Regions from separate parts of the Homo sapiens genome. Here all the other regions are linked to region 7. Evidence: promoter capture Hi-C in 16 types of primary human blood cells and fetal thymus (Javierre and others, 2016). All regions are on one chromosome and are shown on one strand. Each heading gives the region's core, a stretch centred on a gene start or on the middle of the fragment in contact. The rest is flanking DNA. Distances are from core to core; before and after follow the strand shown. Region 1 overlaps VDAC2 (voltage dependent anion channel 2). Region 2 overlaps ADK (adenosine kinase). Region 3 overlaps ADK (adenosine kinase). Region 4 overlaps ADK (adenosine kinase). Region 5 overlaps ADK (adenosine kinase). Region 6 overlaps ADK (adenosine kinase). Region 7 holds the start of KAT6B (lysine acetyltransferase 6B).

Region 1 (3,290 bases), core at 712-3,211, 390 kb before region 7:
TGGGCTAGGTAAAAACACCAGGCTGGATGCAGTGGCTCACGCCTATAATCCCAACACTTTGGAAGGCTGAGGCGGGAGGATCGCTTGAGGCCAGGAGTTTGAGACAAGCCTGGGCAACATAGCAAGACCCCATCTCTACAAAAATAATTAAAAACAAACAAACAAAAAAACAACAATAGCCGGGCACAGTGGCTCACGCCTGTAATCCCAGCACTTTGGCAGATCACGAGGTCAGGAGTTCCAGACCAGCCTTGCCAGCATGGTGAAACCCCGTCTCTACCAAAAATACAAAAATTAGCCAGGCATGGTGGCACACGCCTGTAGTCCCAGCTACTTGGGAGGTTGAGGCAGGAGAATTGTTTGAACCCGGGAGGCGGATGTTGGAGTGAGCCGAGATCGCAAAAGAGCAAGACTCTGTCTGAACCAAAACAAAAAAAGAAAGAAAAAAGAAAAAGAAAAAAAAACCCAACCACAAAACACCATACATTTTAGGCAATCCTATCAAGTCAGCATCTCACACATCAAAATAATTAAGTAAAATGAATGTACTGGTAGCAGTCTGCCAATATATAATGCCTCTTGTAAAAATACAAAGCACATTAAACCCCATATAAAATGAACATTTACTCTCTCAGCACCAAAGGTCAGACTAACAGTCTTCTACTATAAACTTTCAAGGGGCACCCTAGAAATGACCAAGAATGATTTTGTTTTTAAATGTTATGAGAAATCCTTTAGGGTGCACCCAGATCAATAAGATGACAGACATCAAAATCATCCTCTGAGGGCCCACATCACAGTATCCTATGAAAGAAATACTTACACATTAGTGTGTAGCTGGAAGTCCCCAGTCCTGTAGCCCACTGCAAAGTTATTCCTTGTCAGCTTTGATTTGGCACTGTCAAAGGTCATCTGGTAGCCAGCAAGCCAGCCCTCATAACCAAAGACAGCTGAACCATGGATTGCAGGTCCAGCAAAATCAAAGTCAACATCACAACCAAGGTTTATACACTCCCTCTTGTAAGAAGACTTGATTTTACCACTTTTCTTTCTGGAAAAAGAACAAACTGATGTCATTGGGAAAAATTTACACACACTTCTGCACAAGAGAGCACAAAACAGACTTAAATAAACTGCAGTATGACCAGGGAGTAAAAATCAGCAATACAATAACAGGGAGTAAAAAAGTCAGCTCAATGAACTACAAGACAAGGACACATGAAGCAACTGGACAGCCATCTAGGAAAACTGCTTTGCAGAACAAACAATCAGTCACAAAAGCCTGTTAGAAACACATTAGTTGCCCAAGTTAGTGCAACAACAAAGAGGCAAATATTTGAAGGCAAGCCAATGATAGCAACCATAGTATTCTAAAAGCAGATATGGGCCAGGCATGGTGGCTCCCGCCTGTAATCTCAGCACTTTGGGAGGCTGAGGCGGGCGGATCACCTGAGGTCAGGAGTTTAAGATCAGCCTGGCCAGCATGGTGAAATCCCGTCTCTACTAAAAATACAAAAAAATTTAGCCAGGCACGGTGGCATATGCCTGTAATCCCAGCTACTCAGGAGGCTGAGGCAGGAGAATCGCTTCAACCCAGGAGGCAGAGGTTGCAGTGAGCCAAGATCGCACCATTGCACTCCAGCCTGGGTGACAGAGAATAAACAAACAGGCTGCGAGCGGTGGCTCACACCTGTAATCCCAGCACTTTGGGAGGCTGAGGTGGGCAGATCACGAGGTCAGGAGTTCAAGACCAGCCTGATCAACACGGTGAAACCCTGTCTCTACCAAAAATACAAAAATTAGGTGGGCGTGGTGGCACATGCCTGTGATCCCAGCTACTCAGGAGGCTGAGGCAGGAGAATCACTTAAACCCGGGAGGCAGAGGTTGCAGTGAGCCGAGATCGCGCCACTGCACTCCAGCCTGTGTGACAGAGTAAGACTCTGTCCCAAATGAAAATAAAATAAAATAAAATAAATACAATAAAATAAAATATGGAAAAAAAAAAAAAGGCTGGGCGTGGTGGCTCATGCCTGTAATCCCACCACTCTGGGAGGCCAAGGTGGGCAGATCACCTGAGGTCAGGAGTTCCAGGACAGCCTGGCCAACATGGCGAAACCCCGCCTCTACTAAAAATACAAAAATTAGCTGGGCGTGGTGGCACGCACCTGTAGTCCCAGCTACTCAGGGAGGCAGAGGCAGAAGAATCGCTTGAACCCAGGAAGCTGAGACTGCAGTGAGCCAAGATGATGCCACTGCACTCCAGCCTGGGTGACACAGCAAAGACTCCATCTCAAATAAATAAATAAAAGCAGATACAGAGATTTCACCACCACAAGGTAGCTTAATAAGCTATCAAACAGTAAATGTACACCTTTTCTAAATATACAAAAGAGAAATACTTTTAAATGTAATACAGATAAAAATGTCTGTGCTTACCCTGTGTTTGGTGAGAAGGTAGTATCAAATGTCAGTTTCAAACCTTGACAAATCTATTTTGAAAGAAAAGTAATTTGTTTTCTTTTTTTGAAATACAAAAATAAATTAATAAAATTAATACTAAAATTTTCAAAATGTTACCTGGTCTTCAATTGCGATTTCTGTTCCCAGAGTGTTATCAGTGTTCCACTTTTCTGTGAAAGTCAGACCATACTCACACCACTTGTATTTGGTCTCCAAGGTCCCAGTAACTTTACCAGTGTCTGTATTAGATGAACCGGACGTTGAAAATTCCTAACAAGACAATCAATAACTTCATGAACATTCTCATAAGCCTAGAATTCATCACTGCCTTACACACGCACACACACACAAACCCCCTGAAACATTTGGTAAATTCATGAATCCTTTTTCTAGCTTCCTAAACACTCGTATCCTTCTGCACTGTGCTACTCTCTAAGCATATATAAGAGTGACAAATAAGCCTTTGAGCAACTGACTGCCACTTTACATACACAGCTGACACTTCCAATCAATCACAAGTTAACCTGTAGTGAATTCTCAAGTGAACAAACTGTACACCTTTTTTTTTTTTTGAGACAGAGTCCCGCTCTATCGCCAGGCTGGAGTGCAGTGGCGTGATCTCGGCATACTGCAACCTCCGCCTTCCAGGTTCAAGTGATTCTCCTGCCTCAGCCTTCCAAGTAGCTGGGATTACAGGTGCCCGCCACCACACCCAGCTGATTTTTGTATTTTTAGTACAGATGGAGTTTCACCATGTTGGTCAGGCTGGTCTCCAACTCCTGACCTCAGGTGATCCACCCACCTCGGCCTCCCAAAGTGTTGGGATTAC
Region 2 (3,401 bases), core at 330-2,829, 440 kb after region 7:
TCTCAGAAGATGTAAGGACATGAGATGAATCTAAACAAACAGGTCTTGCTAAGGTCCCCTCAGTTTACTACTCTTAGTTCATACCCCTTTTTGTCCTATTGCCTTTCCCTTCCACTCTTCATAAAACCTAATGTAAAAACACCAGGTTTAATTGTTTCTTCAAGTCTTCATTTCCCTCTATGTTACATAAAACTTAGAATATAAATTAGTGTACTTAACTTTTGTTAATCTGTCTTTTGTTACAAGAATCTTACAGCAGAGAACTTAGAAGGAAAATATTTTTCCTCCCTCACAACTACAAATAGGAATTAGGGGATATATGAGGCTTACGTGGGATAGCTAATTTTCAGAAGAAGATGAATGGCAGAGAGGCCGAGAAAGAGAGAGAGAGAGAGAGACAGAGACAGAGACAGAGACAGACAGACTGACTACTGGAATCAGAAAACTAAAAGTTCAGTATTCCAAAAAGTCTTAGAATCAAAATGCTTATAATCTCTTACTCAAATCTGTATTCTAAAGATATAGTATTTCCTAAAGTACAGAATAAAAGTATGCTGCATATACTCTATCTAGAGGTATCATTAACAATATAACCAGTAATACAGGTTAAAGGTTCAGCATAGAATCTGGCATAAGGTTGGCAGAAAGTAAATTTTAATTATTATTATTATTATTACTGTTGTAATTATTGTAGCAGTATCACTAATACTATTGTTATTGTTACTTCTAAGTCAAATTGTTATATATCTAGAATACTAAGAAGGAGTATGAATCTTATTTTCTAAGCTTTGTTAGTCTGCTTGAAGTCCAGGGGCCCCTATCATTGCAGGGTATGTGTGAGAGGAGGGGGGGAAAATCCAATAAACATCCTGAAATTGTAAGGAAACTTTGCTGTGTTTTTCAAGAGAGGATTCACAGATTTCATTAGGTGACTAACACGGTCTAGGCCACCTACACCAAGGGGAAGTGAGGGAAGAGTGTAGGCAGAACCCAGATATAGCCAGTGAGGAAGCCTTTTTCTTTTCAAGAAAAAGAGCAAAAAGGTTACAGAACTGAGTCAAATTCATCAAATTAAACAAGAAACTCATTTAATCCAAAGCTATTTACCAAAATTTTAAAATACTGTATCTTATAATTTTAAAAAAATTGTGTTACTGAAACTTTCACTCAATTTCTTAAGATTAACAAAAATGGATTACAAAATAGCATGGATTTATCTCCAAAGGTCTCCAAAACTAGGGATAAAAAAATAACACAGCACCTGGTATGGTGTTACAATAGGTGTCAAGTTTTAATTCAATGTGACTTTCATCAGAACAAAAGAATAGGCTGTATATAAAATAAGAAAGAAAAACCACCAAGGAAGTTTATTGTGGTAAATTAAAACCAGGACAAAACGGTGAGAAAGGGCCAGGTGCGGTGGCTCACACCTGCAATCCCAGCATTTTGGGAGGCTGAGGCCGGCAGATGGCTTGAGCTCAGAAGTTCGAGACCAGCCTAGGCAATGTGGTAAAACCCCATCTCTAGAAAAAATACAAAAATTAGCCAGGCATGGTGGTGTGCACCTGTAGTTCTAGCTACTCAGGAGGCTGAGGTGAGAGGATCGCCTGAGCCTGGGAGGTAGAGGCTGCAGTGAGCCAAGATTACATCACTTGCACTCCAGCCTGAGTGACAGAGTGAGACCATGTCTCGAGAAAAGAAAAAGGAAGGTGAGGAAAGGAAGAAACCTTTAGAGAAACACCACAGTGATCTTTAGACATAAGAATGTCACTCAAATGCATCTGCCCAGAAATTCTACAAAATCCACAGAGAAGCATGCCAACTAATAACCAAAGAATAAGAAAAGAATTGAGAAAATCCTTCTCCTTTACTTTTTCTAGTATACACTTTATAAAAAGCAAAATCCCTCAAGGCAGTAAACATCTGCCCAACAACACTTAACAGCAGCAACATCAAAAACGTAAGGCAAAGGTCAAGTCAAAGTTTATTGACAATGATGAACTATGACAGCCTCTATTAAATTACCCCTTCCTTCAAGGTGTATGTGATCAAAGCAGCAAAGATATTTTCACTCAGTCACATAACAAGCCATTTGCTGAGATTGAAACATCTGGTCAATATCTCCTAACACTGCAATTTCATGCACAGTTAGCATTAGGGCACATTTCTTCTACTCTTCTTACAGGGTCCATAAGGGTGGCACATATGGCTGATCATTTCATTCAAAAAGGATTCAATTCAAGGCATTACACACAATCGTCTGTGCTTTATGGTGTTTTAAGTCTACCTGCCACAGTTTTCCATCATCATTGCTGACTGCTGTTCTCTTCCACTATAAAAGCCTGCAAATATGACAAAGCACTTAAAGCTTAACAGCTTTCCTCTACCTGAGTTAGTAAGCATTTAAGGCAAAGGAATCTATAAAGTGGCAGGTCATTTTCTATTGTCAAGAACTCCCAATACATGAAACTATTTACCATTTTATTTACCATTTAGCAAAAATCTAATACAGATTAGAAAAGTAATTTTTAATGTCAAATCAAATACTTAACTTTCTGCTTGACAGATCTACGAAAGTACACTCTTTTGGCTATGATTTTAAGTTATAATAAACAATTAGAAAACAATATCATAAAACATTTAAAAATTTAATTTTAACATATATTAACAGATTTTTTTTAACTTGACAAAGAACAATTCTATACCAGAGAAAATCAGAATGTTACAATTTTATCAGTCCCATACACTGAAAATTTTCCACATGAAATTCATGCATTTGTTGTCATGGTAACAGAGCCCTTTCTTAAACACTTACAGTAGTAAACTTGAACTCACACCATAGATTTCTCTTTTTCCCTTTCTTCCTTTAGTATAATACCTTCAAAAGAAAAACAGGGTGAGGGTGCGGGACAACTTTAAAGCTATTGTTTCATATTTCCTTTGACACATTTCCCTGACAGGTAGTATGACTATATGAGTATAATTATTTTCTGAAATTTAAGATTTTGCCTAGAAGCTAATAGCTAAATAAAAAAATGTGTTTTTTTTTGAGACAGGGTCTCACTCTGTCGCCCAGGCTGGAGTGCAGTGGCACGATCTCGATTCACTGCAACCTCTGCCTCCCAGGTTCAAGCGATTGTCCTGCCTCAGCCTCCCAAGTAGCTGGGACTACAGGTGCATGCCACCACACCCAGCTAATTTTTTGCATTTTTAGTAGAGATGGGGTTTTACCATGTTAACCAGGATGGTCTCAATCTCCTGACCTTGTGATCCGCCCGTCTCAGCCTCCCCAAAGTGCTGGGATTACAGATGTGAGCCACTGCGCCCGGAGAAGAACTATTCTTCTCATGATAAAGAAAAACAACCACCTTACAATAAGGAACATGCAATGACTGATTAAG
Region 3 (3,051 bases), core at 430-2,929, 410 kb after region 7:
CCACAAGTCCACAACACAAAATCTTCCAATCTTTATCTTTAGGGCTCCTAAGCTCCCATAACCAATACTATCCCAATTCTTCTTAGTAAAAAGGTTAGTCCGTGTAATGAAAAATAACATTACTTAATATTCCCAAAGATTTCTTCTCTGTCTTGGTAGAGAGTTTTACTTTTGGTAGCTGCCAAAAATAAGAGTTAAGAAAAATTACAGGAATAAAAGAGTACATTCTCCAATTTGGAGAAAGTCTTTCTGTATAAAAATCACAGTGTTACTCAAAAAAAACTGGTATTAGAATTTTATTTATTGAAGAAAACAAATTCTAGAGAAATTAAAAATAAACACAAATAGGATCTCTGTAATCACACTTTTCTTTCTTTTCTTTTTTTTTGAGATGGAGTCTCACTCTGTCACCTAGGCAGGAGTGCAACCTCTGCCTCCCAGGTTCAAGCCATTCTCCTGCCTCAGCTTCTCAAGTGCTGGGATTACAGGCATGCGCCACCACGCCCGGCTAATTTTTGTATTTTTAGTAGAGAGGGGGTTTCACCATGTTGGCCAGGCTGGTCTCCAACTCCTGACCTCAAGTGATCTGCCCACCTCGGCCTCCCAAAATGCTGGGATTACAGGCGTGAGCCACCACGTCCAGCCTATAATCACACTCTTGTTTGAAAATTTATCCAGCAAAAATCAAAGATTCTCCCTACTAAGGTGGAAGTAACAACAGTAAATAATTTGTGTAACTCACTGAACATCAATAACATATGGAAAATGAAAAACATTAGAAACTGAACTCTAACACTAATGGTAAGAAATAGCATAATTAAGTCTGTTTTGGTATAAGCATACCTTATTTTATTGCACTTCACAGATACCTTTTTATTATTTTTTTTTACAAATCGAAGGTTTATGGCAAGCCTGCCTTGAGTATGGTGTCATTATTTTCCAACAGAATGTGCTCGCTTGGATCTCTGTCATATTTTGGTAATTCTTTCAATATTTCAAACTTTTATATCTTTTATAGTGATCACTGATCTATGATATTATTATTGTAATTGTTTTGGGATGCCACAAACCACACCCATAGAAGATGGTGAACTTAACTGATAAATGCTGTGTTTTCACTGCTCTACCAGCTGGCCATTACCCCATCTCTCTACCTCTCCTAAGGCCTCCCTATTTCTTGAGACACAACAATAGTGACATTAGGCCAATTAATAATCCTACAGTGGTCTCTAAGTGTTCAAGTGAAAGGAGGAGTTGCATGTCTCTCACTTTAAGTCAAAAGCTAGAAATGATTGAGTTTAGTGAGGAAGGCATATCGAAAGGTGAGACAGGCTGAAAGTTTGACCTCTCACAACAAACAGGCAAGTTCTCAATGCAAAGAAAAAGTTCTTGAAGAAAATTAAAAGTGCTACTCCAGTGAACGCATGAATAAGAGAGTGAAATAAGCTTATTGCTGACATGGAGAAAGTTTTACTGGTCTGTATAGAACATCAAACCAGCATAGCATTCTCTTAGGTCAAAGCTTAATCCCGAGCACAACCTTAACTCTTTTCAATTCTGTTAAAGCTGAGAGGTGAGGATGCTGTGCAAGAAAAGTCTGAAGCTAAGAGAGGCTAATTTGTGAGGTTGAAAGAAAGAAGCAATCTCCATATCATAAAAGTGCAAGGTAAAATAGCAGGTGCTGAAGAGTTACCCAGATCTTGCCAACATCATTGATGAAGGTGGCTGCACTGAACAACAGGTTTTCAACATAGACAAAAGAGTCTTCTACTGGCAGAAGATGCTATTGAAGACTTTTACAGCTAAAAAGAAGTAAATGCTTGGCTTCGAAGCTTCAAAGGATAGGACGACTCTTTTTTTTTTAGGGGCTAATGCAGCTGGTGACTTTCAGTTGAAGTCAATGCTCATTTACCATTCTAAAAATCCTAGAGCCCTTAAGAGTTATGTTAAATCTGCTCTGCCTGTGTTCTATAAATGAAATAACAAAGCCTGGATGAACACATACCTGTTTGAGTATGGTATGCTGAATTTTTTTTTTTTTGGGGACAGTTTCACTCTTGTCACCCAGGCTGGAGTGCAATGGCGCAATCTTGGCTCACCGCAACCTCCGCCTCCAGGGTTCAAGCAATTCTCCTGCTTCAGCCTCCTGAGTAGCTGGGATTACAGGTGTGCACCACCATGCCCAGCTCATTTTTGTATTATTAGTAGAGATGTGGTTTCACCATGTCGACCAGGCTGGTCTCGAATTCCTGACCTCAGGTGATCCTCCCGCCTTGGCCTCCTAAAGTGCTGGGATTACAGGCATAAGCCACTGTGCCCAGCTGGTATACTGAATATTTTAAGCCCACTGTTGAGATCTACTGCTCAGAAAAAAAGATTCCCTTTAAAATATTACTGCTCATTAACAATGCATCTGGTAACCCAAGGGCTCTGATGGAGACGTATAAGAAGATGAATGTTGTTTTCACGGCTGCTAAAACAACATTCATTCTGCAGCCCATGGATCAATGAGTAATTTTGACTTTCAAATCTTATTTAAGTAATATATTTCATAAGGCTATAGCTGCCATAGTGACTCATCTGATGGGTTTGGGCAGAGTAAATTGAAAACCTCCTGAAAATAATTCATCATTCCAGTTGTCATTAAGAACATTCATGGGCTGGGCATGGTGGCTCACACCTGCAATCCCAGCGCTTTGGGAGGCCGCAGTGGGAGGATCACTTAAGCCCAGCAGTTCGAGACCAGCCTGGCCAATATGGTGAGACCTCGTCTCTACAAAAATAAAATAAATGATGAGGTGGGAGGATTGCTTGAGCTTGCCTGGGAGATTGAGACTGCAATGTGCAGTGATTGTTACTGCACTTCCCTGCCTGAGTGACAGGAGTAAAACCCTGTTTAAAAAAAAAAGAACATTCACGATTCATGTGAGGTGGTCAAAATATTAACATTAATAGGAGTTTGGAATAAGTGGATTCCAACCCTCATGGATGACTTTGAGGGCTTCAAGACTTCAGTGGAAGAAGTCAATGCACATGTGATGGAAATAGCAA
Region 4 (2,963 bases), core at 449-2,948, 510 kb after region 7:
TTTTATCCCCTTGATGAAATTAGGTCCCACTGCTTGTAGTATTTCTTGATGAAGCTTTGTTTTGCTTTTAGACAGAAAAATACAATTTCAAATTGTACCCATGTTTAATGTCATACCCAGAAACACTGCATGACATTAAGGCCCACAAGAGTAGAGATATGTCATTCTTTTATGAAGTGGATAACTGTGATATGTGTAGATTTATCCTGGAGAGCACAACCATAACTGCTAAGACAGAACTAAAAGCATGTTATCACTAATAGCAGTAAAACAATTTCTTAACATAATGCATAAAACAAAGTAGGAAGAAAGGAAGAAGAGGGGAGGGAAGAGGAAGGGTAGGAGGAGAAGGGAAAGAGATGTGAGGAAGGGAGGAGGAGGAGAAAGAAGGGAAGGGGAGAGGAGGGGTAAAGGGAAGAAGAGAGAGAAAGGAAAGGAGAGAGACAAGGAAAGGAGAGAGGGAGAAAAGGGAGGAAAGGAAAAAATGAAATACTGATTTTTCTTTAAAGAATCTGATCTAAGTTATAATAATTTCACAAACACATCAAAAATATAATTGAGGACAGCAAGCCACTGCTTCCTTCATCTTATTTTAGCTATGAAAACTTAACAACCTAATTTGAAAAGGAAAGAGAACAGAAAGGCAAAGAGGAGTATTAATTCATATTTAAACTTTAAAAACTATAATGAGGTATCACAATTTGAACAGTCAACCTTATTCGTAGGGCCTGTGTTACTTAAAATTATTCATTAATCATAAAATTGGCAGAATTAATACTTACTACTTTCTTCAATGACACAAAGAATTGACGAGACGGTGTTGCATCACCATCTGCCACATCCTGCTATAATTATAAATACAGTTGTGCTACTGACATTTCTACAACTGCTCCAGGTGAAAGCATTTGAACACAGAATTCTCTTTGATCACTTCATTGTCATTTCTTCTTTTTAAATTTACATCTGGACTGTTCCGATGCACAGAAGTATGTCTCATAAAAAACCTTTTAACCTCTAACTAGCTTTTCTAGGTAAAATAGGTCACAAGAGATAATCAGATTTTTTTAATACAGAAAAACTTTAAAGATTAACTTTTTTCAAAAAAGGATTCAAAATAGATAAACAACATGAGTCCTTTGATTTACATCAGTTTTAACTTCTAAATACTGTAACTCAATTAGTAATGTTACACTAATTGGTAGTTCTTGAAATATCAGCTTTACAATTTTGAGTTCAATGTTTCTATTTCATTCAAACATAATTCCTAAAACTTCTTTTGTTTAGTGTTTTTAGAAACTCATTTTACATAGAATTTTGGAAAGCTTTAAAATACAATTATGAACACTAGTTTATTATGTGATGTTTTACATCAAGAAAACACTTAAAAGCATGCCCCGAGATGTATACAACATAAACACACTGGCATTTAGGCAGTCCTCTTAAATTTTAATTAAAAATGAAACAACATGGTTAAAATTTTACTGGAAGTTAAATACAAATATGGAGGCTTATCTAATTGGAAGAGACATGAAAAACTGGAAGATTGAATGTAAGTCAATAATTATAAAAGCAGATTAGAAATTATAAGACAGAAATAAGGATCTGCTAATTTGAGAAGAGACCAAGCTAATGTCTTGAGGATCATTTGAGCCCAGGAGTTCAAGACCAGCCCGGTTAATATGGCAAAACCCAATCTCTACAAAAAAGTTAAAAATAAGGTGGGTGTGGTGGTGTGCACCTATAGTCCCAACTACTCAGGAGGCTGAGGCAGGAGAATTCCTTGAGCCCAGGAGGTCAAGGATGCAGTGAGCTGTGATCGCACCACTGCACTCCAGCCTGGGTGACAGAGCAAGACTCTGCCTCAAATTAAAAAAAGAAAAAAAAATCCATATAGCCTCAATGTTATAATAATTACAGGAAAAAAAATGATTCAAATGATTACCTGCTTATATTCCAGTTAACAAAGGATAAGATGGTATTTAAAATTTTTGAGATGCCTAGAATATACCCCAAGATGGCATTTTTAAAATAAATTTAAAAATACTATAGGTAAGTTAAATTGCAGGAAGCTTAAAAACAAGCGAACTTACAACTTAAATAGAAATACCTCACGAAGCTCACCATCAGGCTTCTGAAAAATTCAATGAGTCACATAATACTATGAATCTCCAAGGAACAAAAAGGTATCTAGGCACCAAGGAAAACTGTCATCTCTGGGAAGCATGAATGAAAGAGTCCATTTACTGATAACTGTATTTAAAGTGATGCATATTCGACACTCTCTCTGACAACCTACAATTACTCCCAAATTGAAGAAGACAGTAAGAAGTGAAGAAAGCATGTGAAACACTACTCAAAATCTCTAACATTTAGAGAAGTAAAAATTGAAGTTTTCTCAGGATGAGAGAAAAATCTCCGGTAAAAAAAGCAAGCTGAGGTTACTAGTTAAAACAGTGGGGTTCTATTTCTGCTTTGCTTACTCACCATGGTGTTTTTTTCTATCTTATTTAATCAGAATCCTTATCACTAAACAATCACCACAGACCAACATATTAATTATGAGAATGCCAGAAGGAAAACAAAGAGAAAATAAAAGAAAAAAATTTTTGAAGATATAATGGTCCAAAACTTCCTGACTTTCATAAAATGAATGAATCTACACATCCAAGCATGAACTTGAAGCATGAATTTAATAAGCTCTAAACATGATAAACACAAAAAGATTCACACCAAGACACATTATAGTCAAACTGCTGAAAGACAAAGACAAGGAAAGAATTTTGAAATCAGTGAGAGAAAAGCAACTGGTCACAAGTCAGGATTCTCAGTAAGAATAAGAACTAATTCTCATCAGAAACCATGTAGGCCAAAAAGCAGTGAGTTGACATATTTAACATACTAAAAGAAAAGCACCGTTAACCAAGAATTCTATATCCAACAAAACTATCCTATAATAAAGGGGC
Region 5 (3,144 bases), core at 161-2,660, 400 kb after region 7:
ATAGAGTCTTGCTCTGTTGTCCAGGCTGGAGTGAAATGTATCTTACTGATTGATTGATTGATTGATTGGAGACAGAGTCTTGCTCTGTTGCCCAGGCTGGAGCACAGTGGCACAATCTAGGCTCACTGCAACCTCCGCCTCCCAGGTTCAAGCAATTATCGTGCCTCAGCCTCCCGAGCAACTGAGATTACAGGTGCCAGCTACCACACCTGGCTAATTTTCGTAGTTTTAGTGGAGATAAGATTTCACCATGTTGGGCATGCTGGTCTCAAACTCCTGACCTCAAGTGATCTGCCCACCTCGGCCTCCCAAAGTGTTGGGATTACAGGCATGAGCCACCATGCCCGGCCTCAGATGCATTTAAAGACTGATTTATTCAAGTCCCCTTATCCTGATTCTGCAGTCGCCATTACATTCCAATGCAAGTTTGCCTAAAGAAACAGATATGCGGATTAAGCAGACACAAACATTTGGGCCGATGTGATAACTACATTTCCTACTATAAATAAATAAGGCAATCTATTGGTTTCTGTAATCATTCTCTTGGAACCTGGTAAATGGAATCATTCTTGCCTCCTTTCCTTTTCTCATATCCAACTGTCAGCCCATCAGAAAAATTTTTGTGAGCTCTTCTTCAAAACATATCTAGAATCTGAACCATCTTTAACACTTCCACCATAAGTCTAAGCTACCATCATCTCTCACATGGGCAGCCTCTTTTTTTTTTTTTTTTTTTTTTTTTGAGACGGAGTCTCGCTCTGTCGCCCAGGCTGGAGTGCAGTGGCGGGATCTCGGCTCACTGCAAGCTCCGATGGGCAGCCTCTTAATAGTTCCCCATGCTTCAACACTTGCCCAACCACCATCTATTTTCTATATAGCAGCCACATCTTATAGACCTGGCTCATAGCTGCCTTGTAGAACTCATCTCCTTCCAGCCGCCTTGCTCTGTCTCAAACACTCTAGGCATATTTCCTTCTCAAGGCCTCTGTGCTTGTTCCCTCTGCTTGAAATGTGCTTTCCCCAAACAGCTGTATGGCTTTTTTCTTCACTTCCTTCAGGCCTCTTCTGAATGTCAACTTAACCATCAAGTCATTCTCTACTATTTATTCCCTACTATATATTGAGAGGTGGTAGAATGTAAGAATTAAAAGCTTAGAGGCAGTCTAAAGTAATGAAAATTGATGTTCCTTTTAAAAAATAATTTTTTATTTTTATAAAATGAGATGGGGTCTTGCTACGTTGACCAGGCTGGTCATGAACTTCTGGCCTCAAGCAATTCTCTCATCTCGGCCTCCTAAAATGCTGGGATTACAGGTGTGAGCCATTACGCCCAGCCAAAAATTGGTGTTCATACAAAAACTTATGTGCAAATATTCACAGCAGCTTTATCTGTAATAGCTCCAAACTGGAAACAACCAAGATGTCTTTCAATAGGTGAACAGAGGGAAGTGGGTGGGCAACATGAAGGATCATTGTGGTGACAGATATATTTGGAGCCTTGACTATATCAGTGTCAATATGATGGTTATGATATGGTTCTATAGTTTTGTAAGAAGTTACCTCGAGAAACTGAGTAAAAAGTACATGAGATCTCTCTGTATTATATTACAACTGCATGTGAATCTACAAATTATGTCAAAATAAAAAAAATTAATTAAAAAAAGCTTGGACACAAGCCAGTCTGATGGATTCAAAATCCTGGGTCTGCTACTTTTAGCTGTGAAACCTGGAGAAAGTTAACACCTCCGTGCCTCTGTTTCTTCATCAATAAAATAGAGGTAATAATAGTACCAATCTAATAAGGTTGTTTGAGGTAAAGGAATTACTATATGTAAAGATCTTAGAATGGTATGTGGCCCAGAGTAAGTATCATATGAGTATTAGCTACTATTGTTAATAATTTTAGAGAATAATGTCTACTATATTGTCTATTTTAACATATGCTCCCGATTCACAGTATAACACTATCTGGTACATAATAGGCACTGGATAAATATTTGTTGAATGAAAACATGAAAGCTCCTGATAGATGAATTTGCTTTTAGTGTACTGACAGAATCACTCTTCTGGATATCCAAGTTTGAGAGTATCACTAGTCAAACATTTTTTCCTTTTATATTTGTATAACTGATTATGGTATACCATAAACATTTTCTATGTTAGACAGTTCCTGCTCCTCTTCTGGTCATGAAAACTTTCTTAGCTCAAAGTCTATTAATATTATACCTAACTTGATTGAAAGAACTGATAGATATTTTTTAAATCTCTTTCTTCCCTACTCCCACAACAGATATGAATTATGGTAATAAGACCACTTGACTAAAGAATATGCAAGTGTCTGCAAATAATTCTAACCATCTTTTTCATGCATATAAAAATTGCTCAGAATTAATTCTTAAAATTGGGATAGTTTGTTGCAAGTTATGACTTCACTGTATTAAACTACTATCATGTGTTGAATCTCAAATTGATCCTAGGTAACATAATTTAATGTTGTAAGAGACATAAAGTCAATGCAATAATGCATTTCATAATTAGCACAAAATCAGTTCCCTGACTGAATAGTTTGAATAATATTCAACTAAGAAGATTTGCCAAGTGTCTTTTATGACTCTCCACTATTAGTCTACTTTAAGATGTTTTTCCCTGCAAGTTCTCTGTAACTTTAGGACAATTTATCTAAACTTTTCCATTGGCAATCATTTCAATGTACAAAAAGTTCCAAAAATAAAAACACAGAAAATACCTTTATCCATTTTCATCTGTTGTCACATTTTTACCTCATTTTCTTTATCATCTATGTTCAGTTGTATTCTTTCTTTTTCTGTATGTATGCATAATATTCTCTTGTGATTGAGTTGAGATGCATTCTGGGCCAGAAACTGCATAGATGATGTTGTGTACTTCTCAGGGACAGATAAACACATAAGGAGGCAAACAATGTTCATTTGACTCTCACTGGAGGTGATACTTGTGATCACCCTGTCAATGTGTTGTCTGATTTCTCCACTGCATTGTTGCTGTTTTTCTCTTCTCCCATACAACATTTCAAGACCATGTAAATATTCTGTTCTTCATCAACATGTCTGTCCTCTTAGATGTTACAACCATTGATGATTTTTGCCTGATCTAATCTTTAACATG
Region 6 (3,164 bases), core at 191-2,690, 380 kb after region 7:
AAATGCCCTGAACTTTCTATTTCTTTTTTCAAAAAACTTTATCCCAAGATGGTTTTTTTGAGGTGACAACTTGACTAGGCTACAGACTCTAGTTATTCAATCAAATTCCAATCTAGGTGTTGCTATACAGGTATTTTTCAGATGTAATTAAAACTCCCAGTCAGTTGACTTCTATTACTGGAGTATCCTGGATAATCTGGAGGGGCCTGATTCAATCAGTTGAAAGTAAAAGCCTGCACGTTGTGCACATGTACCCTAAAACTTAAAGTATAATAATAATAAAATTTAAAAAGAAAAGCATGGCTTAAGTTTCCTTGACAGAGAGAATAAATTCCACCTATGAATGACAGCTTCTGCCCATGCCTAAGAAGTTCAAGGCTTTCTCCCCTTCCTGGTTGCCTGCCCTATGGTTTTGGACTACTTAGCCAGTCTCCACAATGACATAGGCCAATTCCTCAAAATCGATCAACCAACAAATAAATCTTATTCTCACTCTATCTTCCCTAATGGGTCTGTTTCTGTGGCTGAATCCTATTAATACAATCTCATTATTTCAAATTATACTAATACATTTGGAAAGAATGTGTGCCTCTGCTTTTTAATTTGAAAAGTGGGCATTTTTTTTTTTAAAAAAGGCAGTATACTATCTGTTATGGGATGAGAGGGAAAAAAAGAAAGCCAGTATATATTATTGTATGTGTGTAAATAACATGTATACACAAGTATACATCTTGTATATAAGCGAGAACTGGTATAAACCTAAATAGGAATTCCTAACAATTCTTGGCCTAAATGTCAGCTTTCAATTAAAGAAGCCCAGATGTAGAAAAAAGCAGTCTGTCAACATTTTACTTTAGTTTTTTGTGTAGCCAGAGTTCTTCATTAAGCATTGAGGAGTGTCATAAAGGAAAAAGAGAACATGGCTTAATGTAAAAGTCACTTATCTTCCTGGGGCAAGGTTAGAGTCTAGAAAGTCTACATAAAAGATGAAATTGCATGTAATAAATACTTATTATATACAAGATACTATATGTATATATGCGTATATATATACACATATATACATGCTGCTTCATTTAATCCTCATAACAATCTAATGAGGTAAAAATGATTCTTATTGCATAGATGGGAAAGTTGAGGCTTACAGTTGTCCAAGGTCATACGGCTAATAGGTGGCATAATCAGCACTGGGAACACTCCCATCCTTTTTAAGAGATGGAGTGGAGGGAAGTGTTCACTAGGTTGCCCCGGCTGGACTTGAACTCCTGGGCTCAAGAGACCCTCCCACTTCACCCTCCCAAGTAGCTGGGATTAAACCTAACTCTTATTTATTTTTTTGAGACAGAGTCTCACTCTGTTGCCTAGGCTGGAGTGCAGTGGCGTGATCTCGACTCACTGCAGCCTCTGCCTCCAGGGTTCAAGCAATTCTCCTGCCTCAACCTTCCAAATAGCTGAGATTACAGGCATGCATCACCACGTCTGCCATTTTTTGTATTTTTAGTAGAGATGCGGTTTCACCACATTGGCCAGACTGGTCTCGAACTCCTGACCTCAGGTGATCCACCCCCCTCAGCCTCCCAAAATGCTGGGATTACAGGCGTGATACACCACACCCAGCCAAACCTAAATCTTAAGCTCCAACTTTTTCTTTTGTACTTTGTACTCTTAGAGGGAAATGACTCCTTAACAGTATATACATTATTCATTGAGAATTTACTATGTGTCAGACCACTTTATTAAGCATTTTTTGGTGCTTTTTTAATTGACTTCTTATCATTTTTTGAGGTAAGTGCTATCATGATCTCCATTTTACAGATGAGAAAACTAAGATAGGAAATTGACAAAGAGTAGTAGATTATTAGCGAAGCCTTCAGAATTATCTTAACTCAGTACCCTGGTATTAGAGAGTAGTCTATAGTGAAGGGGATCAGAGTATGACACCCTCAAATATGCCACTTCAGCATAAGGATTATTTTGAACTACAGGCAATTAAAACAGCAAACATAGGAGGAGCTCTCTGCCCTCCCCTTTACTTCCTAAAAATAGGGCATAAATTTCCCTTTTGTAAAGGAAATTCATATTTGTAATGGCGTCCTCCTCTCCAGTACCAGGAAGAGAAGAAGCAGACTCTTCTCACTTGACTCTGCCTAATAAACCTTACTAAACAACCCTTATTTACCACTCATTCCTTAGTCACCTATCATTAATGCCCACCCTCACCCCACCAGAAGTCTAAACCCCCATTTTGTCTAGTCTCTTCTCCATACTTTATCACTCTTTCTTAAAATGATATGTAAGCCCCTTGGTCTCATTGGTTTTTTGGGGTTTTCAATTCTTTTCTGTGAGGCTTCTCACGTGCATACAAAATAATCCTTTTATCCTCCTAATTTTTTGTCAGTTTAATTTGCAAGCACCAACTACTGAACATAAGAGGGTAGAGGAAAAGTTTTTCCTCCTATAGTACCTGCTCTACGTAGTGGAGAGATGTTTAAGTAAATATAGCAAATAGTACAGCAGATATCAAAATATATTTGACAAAAACTATTACTGGAGAGTAGAAGATTTAAAATGCTTTGGGTAAAGCATTATAAAAACAAAACAACCCCCCAAAGCCTCCTAAGTGAAAATCAATGAATGAGAACCATGCAGTGATTTATAGACTAATAATATATTTTGGATTTTAAAATCAATGTTAACAGTTTGCTCAAAATCACTGTACTATCTAAATAGGAGGAAATACAATTGATGGAACTAGTTTACATGTCTTTTTAACATATTTCCAAGCTCTAAAACCAATAAGAAATGAGAATAGTTGAAGATGTTTGTCTCCTATATTTCATTCACTGTATGTACATGGGAATTATTAGCATAAAGGAATAAAATCAAATGTACAATTATCCACCTTCTCACTATTCTTTCAAATTAGTCTTATATCACAATACTTCTTAAAAGGATTTTATGGTTCCCAGCTGCTTATCGTATACAGTTTATACTCCTAAGCATGGAATGTAAGGTTCTTCTGACCCCATCCTATCTTCTTTCCTATCGTCGTCTCTCACTATACTTCCACAGGCAACCTAGTTTAGTATTTCACAATTTGATCCATAGGAGAGGTTAATAAGCTCTCTTTGAAAAATGGCTTGACTGGAAAATAGGTTTTTTAA
Region 7 (3,399 bases), core at 695-3,194:
AAATGGAGTGTTTTATTTCAAGGCTATGCCAAAAAATCTAGGGTATACAAGTAAGACAGGAAGAATGCACTTTAAAAAAAAAAAAACACAAAAAACCTTCTTGGGGCCCCATAGAACTAAGACTGTTCGAACACAACTAATTTCCATTTGCTATTTCCACCTTCTGTCCATATAGGAGGGGCCCTCATATGCTCTACCCTGAATTTCCTTGGTACCTCCAACCCCAAACATACTTGGTTCGTTGGTCTTCATTTCCTATTTCCCACATCTGTAATTCTTTATCACTACCCCTTCACAACTTCTGTCTAACACTCTCTTTAACACGTCCCAACACCTTCTACCAATTACAGGGCTTAAACTCCTTCATGGGGCATAGGACACCATTTGTAATCTAACCCCTCCTCTGCCTTTGCCTGGTCATCTCCTACCACTCCCTGCACTCTGCCCACAGCAAAGTACTAGCAAATTCAAAGCTATGCAAAATGTCCTATCCCAAGGTATGGTGCATGTCTCTTCCTGGGATACCCTGCTGCCGGACACTCCCTTGAAGACTCCAGATCAAGTTTAACATAATGAATCCAGCGTATCACGGGTCGCCATAGCTCACGTCTGTAATCCCATCAGTCAGGCAGAGGTGGGCAGATCACTTGAGGCCAGGAGTTCGAGACCAGCCTGGGCAACATAGTGAGACCCTTTTCTCATTTTTATAAAAAATAATAAATACAGCCTATCAAACAACTTGTCTCCCAAACTAACACCTTTCTCTGCCCCATCCTCACCCCTGGCACAGTCCACCAAATCACATTCACCGAAAATTACTGTACAGCTCCACCCACTTTCTTCACACCTGCCGCCTTGTCCCACCCCTACCAATCCCTTGTCCCCAGGAGATTTTCTGCCACAGATTTTGCAAGTTCTAAGCAGCCTCTCTCCCCTTCCTTCATATTTAAGTTTGCTCTGCTGTCTTAGCATCATCTTTCAGAAACTCTCCCAAGCACAACCATCCCATCCTTCCACGTTTTTAAAAAATACTTCATACCCCAAAGCTAGCAAACCTCCTTCTTATTCCAACATGCGATCCACCCAGATACCTCTTTCCCATCACTGCAATCGTACCTGCTCCTCACATGCGCCTCAATGCCTCCCCAAACCCCTCAACGCCTCCCCAAACCCAACACTCTGCACCGCTTCAACTCTACTCCACATCCACCACACCCAAACCCACCTACTCTGCGCCCAGACAACTGCAATCTCGCCTTCGGTATCATCTCACCTGCCCTCACACACCCCTCGGTCCGCCTTCCACTTCTCTCAAATTGCATCCCTCCCTAACTCTCCCTCTGCACCTGCTTCTACACCTTCAGCTTCTCCTCCCACCCAACCCTCACTAGTCTTCCTCACACCCTCGCCGGCCCCCCACCGCTCCTACCAGTTCACTCCCACTCAGAAATTCCCTCTCAGCCCCCGCCTTCCGACTCCCCGAACCCCGCCCCCACCCGATCCCGCCCCGCCCCCCTCCGCCCTCGAGCCCCGCCCCCTTGCCCTAGAGCCCTGCCGAGGGGCGGGGCCTGTCCCTCCTCCCCTTTCCCCCGCCCCCTACCGTCACGCTCAGGGGCAGCCTGACCCCGAGCGGCCCCGCGGTGACCCTCGCGCAGAGGCCTGTGGGAGGGGCGTCGCAAGCCCCTGAATCCCCCCCCGTCTGTTCCCCCCTCCCGCCCAGTCTCCTCCCCCTGGGAACGCGCGGGGTGGGTGACAGACCTGGCTGCGCGCCACCGCCACCGCGCCTGCCGGGGGCGCTGCCGCTGCCTGAGAAACTGCGGCTGCCGCCTGGAGGAGGTGCCGTCGCCTCCGCCACCGCTGCCGCCGCCGCCAGGGGTAGGAGCTAAGCCGCCGCCATTTTGTGTCCCCCTGTTGTTGTCGTTGACATGAATCCGACATGACACTGATTACAGCCCAATGGAGTCTCATTAAACCCGAGTCGCGGTCCCGCCCCGCCGCTGCTCCATTGGAGGAGACCAAAGACACTTAAGGCCACCCGTTGGCCTACGGGTCTGTCTGTCACCCACTCACTAACCACTCTGCAGCCCATTGGGGCAGGTTCCTGCCGGTCATCTCGCTTCCACATAAACACACCCCTCGACCCATCATCCCCCCCTCCGGCACCACCCCGGGGGAGGGTCCACTGCCAATACCAATCAACAGACCGCTGGGTCCGCCTCTTCCGGGCACCTATTGGTCCAGCCCTTTTTCTCTCTCCTAGATACCGCGCCACCTCTACTTCCACCTACCCGCCCCCTCCACCTCTAGGAAAGGATTGGGTCTACTCGCAGCAGAGGAGCGTAGCCTTATTGGCTGCAGACGACGCCAATCAGGAGGCCTTTTCCCTCTCCCCTCCCCCACTCAACCCCAAACCCCCTAGCCCGCAGCTAAAGTTTGTGTGAGAGCTGATCGCTGGCGGCGGCCGCAGGATTTAGGGGTGGGCGCGGGCGGGCGCGCGCGGGCGGGCACGCGAAGTTAAAATTCGAGGTTCTCAGTCGCCAGCTCCTTCGGTGGAGTGTGCGGACGGGCGCGCCGCCCGGAGCGTTCCATCCCGCCCCCTCCTCCACCCTCTCTCCCGTCCCGTCCCGTCCCGGGCGACTACTCGCCCGCCCCCTGGCTCGCATCCTTCCCCCCCCAACACACCCCTACCCTGCCAGCCCCAGGCCGGGTGCAGGCAGAACGATGTCGCTGCAGCCTCCTCGCCATCCCATGCCTCGGGGGAGCAAGCCCCTACCCACCGGGCGTGCACCCCCCGGCTCCACACTCGCCCGTGTCTGCAAGCACGTGCACCGCTCGCCGCTGCCTCCGGCCACCCGGGTCCCCGGCTAACCTCGCCTGCAGCCCGGCCAATCGCTCGCTGCCCTTTGTTGCTGCAGCCTGGGTCTCCCCGCTGCCTTCCTCAGCCTCCGCCTCGTCCTTTGCCAGCCGCCCGGGTCCGCAGCGCCGCGCTCCCCCCGCCCGGGACCCACCGCCGCCGCCTCCTTCTCCTCCTCCGCCTCCTCCTCCTCGGCTCCGGGCTGCAGCGCACAGAGCCCGAGGCAGCGCCGCCCAGCCCCGCTCCCCCCGCGCCGCCCGCCAGCCCGCCCGGCCTGGCCGGGGGCGCAGCCCGGACCCCGCCCGCCCCAGTCTCCGCCCCGGGGGTACCTGCCTCCGCCCCGGGGGGCTCCTCTCGCCGCCCTCGGGGGAGGGCGGAGACGCTGGTGTCCGCGGGAGGATGGGGACGCCTGGGCCGTTTGGGGCGGGGAGTGTGCCCGCCAGGGCTGGGACTGAGGTGCGGTCCTCGCCAACGCGTCCCCACTCCCGTCGCTGTGGGCCCCAAACTTCGTCCTTCGCCCAGGCTTTGCGCCTTCGGGCGATCGC

What was found. The method cuts DNA at HindIII sites, captures the fragments that hold promoters and counts their contacts. A CHiCAGO score of 5 or more calls a contact.
Region 1: a fragment that was not itself captured here is called in contact with the fragment with the promoter of KAT6B in region 7 in 1 of 17 cell types (neutrophils); the score reaches 11.8 in neutrophils.
Region 2: a contact is called between a fragment that was not itself captured here and the fragment with the promoter of KAT6B in region 7, in 8 of 17 cell types (total CD4 T cells, naive CD4 T cells, activated CD4 T cells and 5 more). The highest score is 12.0, in total CD4 T cells.
Region 3: a contact is called between a fragment that was not itself captured here and the fragment with the promoter of KAT6B in region 7, in 6 of 17 cell types (total CD4 T cells, naive CD8 T cells, total CD8 T cells and 3 more). The highest score is 9.6, in total CD4 T cells.
Region 4: a fragment that was not itself captured here is called in contact with the fragment with the promoter of KAT6B in region 7 in 4 of 17 cell types (total CD8 T cells, M1 macrophages, total CD4 T cells and 1 more); the score reaches 7.0 in total CD8 T cells.
Region 5: a contact is called between a fragment that was not itself captured here and the fragment with the promoter of KAT6B in region 7, in 14 of 17 cell types (total CD4 T cells, total CD8 T cells, naive CD8 T cells and 11 more). The highest score is 15.9, in total CD4 T cells.
Region 6: a contact is called between a fragment that was not itself captured here and the fragment with the promoter of KAT6B in region 7, in 2 of 17 cell types (naive CD4 T cells and total CD4 T cells). The highest score is 6.6, in naive CD4 T cells.

The regions. Positions count from the first base shown.
Region 1 is chr10:75,218,504-75,221,793 of GRCh38, reverse strand. VDAC2 (voltage dependent anion channel 2) reads right to left here. Exons shown (of 10, transcript NM_001391963.1): 5 at 2,579-2,731; 6 at 2,438-2,490; 7 at 824-1,051. Among named protein-coding and RNA genes, the nearest start is that of VDAC2, 9.4 kb to the right of the region's middle. The HindIII fragment of the contact is 7,145 bases long and covers 1-3,290 here.
Region 2 is chr10:74,380,406-74,383,806 of GRCh38, reverse strand. The region is part of intron 4 of ADK (adenosine kinase); the gene reads right to left. Among named protein-coding and RNA genes, the nearest start is that of ADK-AS1, 150 kb to the left of the region's middle. The HindIII fragment of the contact is 1,582 bases long and covers 789-2,370 here.
Region 3 is chr10:74,412,048-74,415,098 of GRCh38, reverse strand. All of the region lies in intron 6 of ADK (adenosine kinase), which reads right to left. Among named protein-coding and RNA genes, the nearest start is that of ADK-AS1, 120 kb to the left of the region's middle. The HindIII fragment of the contact is 310 bases long and covers 1,525-1,834 here.
Region 4 is chr10:74,320,202-74,323,164 of GRCh38, reverse strand. All of the region lies in intron 4 of ADK (adenosine kinase), which reads right to left. Among named protein-coding and RNA genes, the nearest start is that of ADK, 170 kb to the right of the region's middle. The HindIII fragment of the contact is 747 bases long and covers 1,325-2,071 here.
Region 5 is chr10:74,428,665-74,431,808 of GRCh38, reverse strand. The region is part of intron 6 of ADK (adenosine kinase); the gene reads right to left. Among named protein-coding and RNA genes, the nearest start is that of ADK-AS1, 99 kb to the left of the region's middle. The HindIII fragment of the contact is 513 bases long and covers 1,154-1,666 here.
Region 6 is chr10:74,446,347-74,449,510 of GRCh38, reverse strand. All of the region lies in intron 6 of ADK (adenosine kinase), which reads right to left. Among named protein-coding and RNA genes, the nearest start is that of ADK-AS1, 81 kb to the left of the region's middle. The HindIII fragment of the contact is 8,727 bases long and covers 1-3,164 here.
Region 7 is chr10:74,825,145-74,828,543 of GRCh38, reverse strand. KAT6B (lysine acetyltransferase 6B) reads right to left here and starts at 1,944. Exons shown (of 18, transcript NM_012330.4): 1 at 1,759-1,944. RefSeq lists silencers at 1,479-1,878, 2,569-2,768, 2,879-2,978, 3,089-3,258 and enhancers at 2,094-2,865, 2,866-3,399. The HindIII fragment of the contact is 8,590 bases long and covers 1-3,399 here.